2 separate regions of the Homo sapiens genome follow, and region 2 is linked to region 1. Evidence: promoter capture Hi-C in 16 types of primary human blood cells and fetal thymus (Javierre and others, 2016). All regions are on one chromosome and are shown on one strand. The core of a region is centred on a gene start or on the middle of the fragment in contact, and the rest is flanking DNA. Distances in the headings are between cores, read along the strand shown. Region 1 holds the start of ZNF667 (zinc finger protein 667). Region 2 overlaps ZIM2-AS1 (ZIM2 antisense RNA 1).

What was found. Contacts are between HindIII fragments. The CHiCAGO score rates a contact against its expected background, and 5 or more counts as called.
Region 2: a fragment that was not itself captured here is called in contact with the fragment with the promoter of ZNF667 in region 1 in 1 of 17 cell types (activated CD4 T cells); the score reaches 5.9 in activated CD4 T cells.

The regions. Positions count from the first base shown.
Region 1 is chr19:56,476,028-56,478,727 of GRCh38, reverse strand. It overlaps ZNF667 (zinc finger protein 667), which reads left to right and starts at 1,383. Exons shown (of 7, transcript NM_001321356.2): 1 at 1,383-1,456. It overlaps ZNF667-AS1 (ZNF667 antisense RNA 1), which reads right to left and starts at 854. Exons shown (of 2, transcript NR_036521.1): 1 at 347-854. The HindIII fragment of the contact is 7,484 bases long and covers 1-2,700 here.
Region 2 is chr19:56,767,893-56,770,592 of GRCh38, reverse strand. All of the region lies in intron 1 of ZIM2-AS1 (ZIM2 antisense RNA 1), which reads right to left. Among named protein-coding and RNA genes, the nearest start is that of ZIM2-AS1, 3.9 kb to the right of the region's middle. The HindIII fragment of the contact is 724 bases long and covers 892-1,615 here.

The sequences.
Region 1 (2,700 bases), core at 134-2,633:
TGTGCAAAAGCAGTCATAGAATAGACGTAAATATACACAAGTATACATATTCAAAATGTGTGGTTCCCCACAGAGACGTACACACCGCAAAAACTGGGCTCTAGAGTCAACAGTAAATAGTTCAGGCTTTGTGGGGCCACACAGTACCTGTTCCCACCTACTCAACTCTGCCCTTCCGCAGAAGTGGATGCAGAAGCTAAACAAATGTCCAGAACATACACACATATTCAAAATCAGTGCCCCCCGCCACGTACAAAACCACAAAAATCGCCTCAGAGACACACGTATAAGAAAACACAAAGGTTCGTCCTCACACATGTTCAGGGTAACACAATGTGGGTCTCACCTACACAAACGCGCGATCAAAACCCGGGACCCGCACGCCCAGATGACCGGGACGAGGCCATACTTCACATCTTCTCTCACAGACTCACAATTACGCAACGGTCACCTCAAACGACTTTATGGCGGACACTCCCGGACCTTCCGCTGTCCGCCCCTCCTCGTCCCTTCTCCCCGCCGGGGTGAGCCTCATCCACCCAGTCTCAACCCCGACGCAGTCAGTCTCACTGCCAGCCCGCCGGCTACGCAGGCGCAACACCGCATGGAACAGCCCCCAGGGCGTGCAGGGGCCGTTGGGAAATGTAGTCCGAGCGCCACGCAAAGGACTGTGGGCCTCTTCGCAAAACGTGCAGGTGAGTCCCCACTGTTGGCCAAAAGAAACATCCCTCCGCTGCTCTCCCGGGTCAGTTCATCTCCGACCCGGACAGAGCAGAACCAGCGCAGCCCAAGCCTTCTTCACCTCACGTTCTGGGTGGGACTTTCCACAGCCTCGCTGCACCCCGGTGGATTCTGGAGGTCGCAGGATGACTGCGTAGTGCGCACGCGCGGGTGGGCGGTGTCCGCCTCCGCGGGTGAGGCCGGCTCCAAACCTCGTGAATGTGGGGGCGAAGGACGCTGGCTGGCTGGAGGCAATAAGCCCTCACACGGGAACGTGTGGTTGTGGGAGCGGGGAAGGCGGCGAATTGGGGAGGTTGGGTTTGGTTAAAGAGCTCGAGGAAGGGCCTCAGTGTCCACACGTGATCTCCTGAGAGGATGAAAAGCAGGGCCAGGCGCCAGTCCCCTAGGAGACCGGTGTGCGTGCCAGCCTCGGGGGTGTGCGCAGGCGCGGGACCTCGCGCGTCCGCCTGCACCAATCGTGCGAACGCGCTTGTGCGTGTGGCGCTGAGGGGTCGGGGCCTCAGGCCGGGGCTGGTGGTACTGTCCCCGAGAGGCGGGTGAGCGCACGCCGCGTGGCCTTGTTTGGGGGCGGGGCCACGCGCCCGCATGCGTGGTGCGTGTGTGAAGGGGGGTGCAGCGCGCGGTCCCGGGGTCCCGGAGGGGAGTGCGCAGGCGCTGAGTCCCTGCTCGGCTGTCTCGGTGGTCGCCGCCGGGGTCTGAGCCCGGGAAGACCGAGGTAAGGGGGCTGGCGAGAGTGTGGGTGTGTCTGAGGGCGTGGGCGGCGCGCCCGCCACTGCGTGGACGTTCCTGCCAAGGCGCGCGTGGGTTTGCGCATCCACGATGGCGTGGGCGTCTGCGCGGGTGCTTGCGTGGGCGGTGGGCTCGCGCCTGCGTGGGTTCTCGGCCCGCCACGGCGTGGGGTTTGCGCCCTTCGCTGCTGTGGTTCTCGGGGCTTGTGCGCCCAAGTGTGAAGTTGGCGCCGCGTGTGAGGCGAGCCGTGTGTGCCTGTGTGTGAGGGAGCTATGTCGGGACCGCGGATGTGTATCGCTGCGTGACCCACGCGAAGGAAACAATGGAGCCATTGGGAAGCCGGGAGTGGGTGTGTGACGCTGACTGTGAAGATTTGTGTTTCTGGAGTGTGTGCGTGTGTCAGTGTCAGGCTGATGTGGGCGTTTATTGTAGCCTTGGGTTACTGTGTGACTTGCCTGGGCGTCTGTCTGCCACTTAGCGTCAGTGGCTTTGCGGTTATGAGTGTGTGACTGTGCCTTTCTGGTGTATATCTCACTGTAACCATGGAAATGGAGGCCCACAGGGGAAGAATTCTTAGCAGCTCTAAGATGTGATGGGCTGCCCTGGAAATCTGTGGAACTGTTTAATTGTGCATGACTTTCCTCCTTGGTAAAATAGCATATTAATAGCACCTGCCTGGGTGTTATTGGGAAGATTAAATGGGATGACGTAGCTGAAACACCCTGCACAGAGCTTGTCACATACTAATCACCGTGTTTAGGTGTTGGTTATGGTGCTGGTGGTCGTTTTTCTTTGACCCTATACAGAGGCAGAGGTAGTGGTGAATACTGGAGGACTTTGCATCTCTGAGCTTCGGACTGGGCTATCTTTGTCCACATACCAGGGCATCTGACCATCTCCAGTTGAGCAGTGGTGCGCTGCCCCCGCCAACCACCTGCGTCGTCAGTTTTCTGCATGTGTACATTTGAGTGGAGGACAGAGCCCTCCACTGACGCTAAGTATGGTTGTGTCCCCTTCCTACCAAGGTAGCTTGGAAAAATAAGAGCATGGACTGTGGCGCCCCGCTGTCTGGTGTTGACTCCTGGTTTCACCACTGGCTGGCTGTGTGACTGAGAGAGCTTACTTAAGTCCACCACTCCTCGGTTCACTTGTAAAACAGTAGTAATAACAGAACCAACCTCAGGTTTATGGTGAGCATAAGTAGAACTTGGCACAAGGAAGTGCCACATC
Region 2 (2,700 bases), core at 4-2,503, 290 kb before region 1:
CTGTATTACGCTCTGTTGCCCAGGCTGCAGTGCAGGGGCGCGATCGTGGCTCACTGCAGCCTCTGCCTTCCAGGTTCAAGCAGTTCTCCTGCCTCAGCCTCCCAAGTAGCTGGGACTACAGGCATGCACCACCCTGCCCGGCTTTTTTTTTTTTCTATTTTTAGTAGAGATGGGGTTTTGCCATGTTGGCCAGGCTGGTCTGGAACTCCTAACCTCAGGTGATCTGCCTGCCTTGGCCTCCCAAAGTGCTAGGATTACAGGTGTGAGCCACCGCACCCAACCCTGTATTACCTATTTTTAAGGTATTTATAGATAGTTGTCATATAGCTGTGACTATTCCATGTGTGCGATAGTATACCTTGTTTTTCTACCCAATCTTATACCTTACAAAACTGCTGTCATCACTCACTCGTCTGTGGTTATCACCGCCTTACCAGTGGCACAGCAAACCCAGTGCTTTCTGTGGATGGCTCCTCCTCTGTTGTTAGGAGGTAAAATTCAGTTTCAATTTTTCATAGTTATGAACATACTATAATCAACATTTCGGTGCTTAAACCTTTTTCCAAATGTAAAATTTCTTTACGATACATATTTGCCAAAGAGGAATTGCTGCATCAGAAGGTGTATAATTGCTTTTAAGATTTTTGATATATCCAAGTTCCTTTTGGAAACATTACATCAGTTTGCACTGCTGCTACTGCTAGTAATGCTTGGGGATACGTGTTCCTCACACACACCCACTACCCCCCACACCTCCCGCCCAGCTGGCATTATGTAATAACAGCACTTTTCATTGTAGGGTGTTTAGTAGCAACTTTGCTAATAGGGGAAAGGGCATCTCATTTTAATTGTCTTTGATTTTTAAGGATGTTGAACTTTCTCCTGTAAGCTTCTTAAGCCATTGTTTCCTCTCTTCACATTGTCTGTCTTTTAATCATTTGTCTATGTGACTTTAATAGCTTCCTATCAGTTTGAACCATCTCTTTGCATAATAAAGATATTAATTCTTTGTTGTCATCTTGGCTGCAAATGATTTTCCCTCTTTGGTATTTTCTTTATTTTTTGAAAATGTTTCAATTTTTATATATTTCAATCCTTCTATTTTCTTCCAACCCTACAAAATCTAACCCTCTGTAAACATTAGTGTTTTATTCTGGAGTTTTAAAAATATGCTTTAGTGATTATTGAATTTACTTGGGCATATTGTATGAAAAGAGAATTAAATTTATTCTTCCTCATTGTTAATTGCCCCAACATTATTAGTAAATTATAAATTGTTATATTTTATAATGTAGGTTCTATATTTGGACCATCTACTTGCTTTTATTGGCTTGTTGCCCTGTTTTATCCTAGATCTATATTCTTCTTAATTTTTATGGCTATATTTAATGTTTTCCATCATTGTGCCTTTAAAAAGTATATGTACATGTATGCATAAATTTATGTGAAGTTATATATAAGTTTCCGTTATTCCAGATTAAAATTTATCTTTAGTAATCAAAAACCAACCTTCTGATTATTATTGCAATGAACTTATAAGTTAGGAAGGATTAACATTGTTACATTTAATCTTAACATCCAGGAATATGATACTGTGTTTTCATTCATTCAAGCTTTTGTATCAATCAGTAAAGCTTTATAGTTTTCTTATCAAAATGTCACAAGTTTTCCTTAGTTATTTCTGCATGTTTTTGCAGTTGTGAGTTTTCTTCTATAGAGTTTTTCTTATATTTCTTCTAAAAAGCCAGCATCTCAAGAATAGGGTCACTTCGGCATTGCCAAGGAATTCTGAAATTTTAGAACCAGACTAACTACATTTGGCTGCTTTATTAAAGTCACCCAGGCCGGGCGCGGTGGCTCACGCCTGTAATCCCAGCACTTTGGGAGGCCGAGGCGGGTGGATCATGAGGTCAGCAGATCGAGACCATCCTGGCTAACAAGGTGAAACCCCGTCTCTACTAAAAATACAAAAAAAATTAGCCGGGCGCGGTGGCGGGCGCCTGTAGTCCCAGCTACTCGGGAGGCTGAGGCAGGAGAATGGCGTGAACCCGGGAAGCGGAGCTTGCAGTGAGCCGAGATTGCGCCACTGCAGTCCGCAGTCCCGCCTGGGCGACAGAGCGAGACTCCGTCTCAAAAAAAAATAAATAAATAAAATTAAAAAAAATAAAAAATAAAATAAAATAAAATAAAAAAATAAAGTCACCCAAGATCATCTCTGCTGGCCCCTGTAGGATCCTCAGTTTTCAATCCTTTCTTGAAACCAGTATTTCTCAAACTTTAATGTGCAATATGGGGGAGACAGGCAATAAGCAAAATAAGGTGGTAAATGCTATGAAGAAAAATAAAACCAGGAAAGAGGGTAGAGAGTTACCATGGAAGTGGGAGGGCTAATTTAAGACAGGTTGGTCCAAAAAAGGCTCTCTGAAGAGATGGCCTTTAAGCAAAGACCATCAGATGAGAAGTCAGCCTGGGACCCTGGAGAAGAGAGTGTCCGGGCAGAGGAAACAGCATGAGCGAAGCTCTTTGGTCAGAAAATAGCTTTGTATGTTGGTGGAGGAGACAGTAGAAGGGTTGCGAGTGAGAGGGAGAGTGATAGGATCAGATGTGGGAGCAGCACCAGGACTGATTTCTCCACTGGTGCAGTTGACATTTGGTGTTGGGCAACTCCTGTGGACCATCCAGTGCATTGTAGGGTGTTTA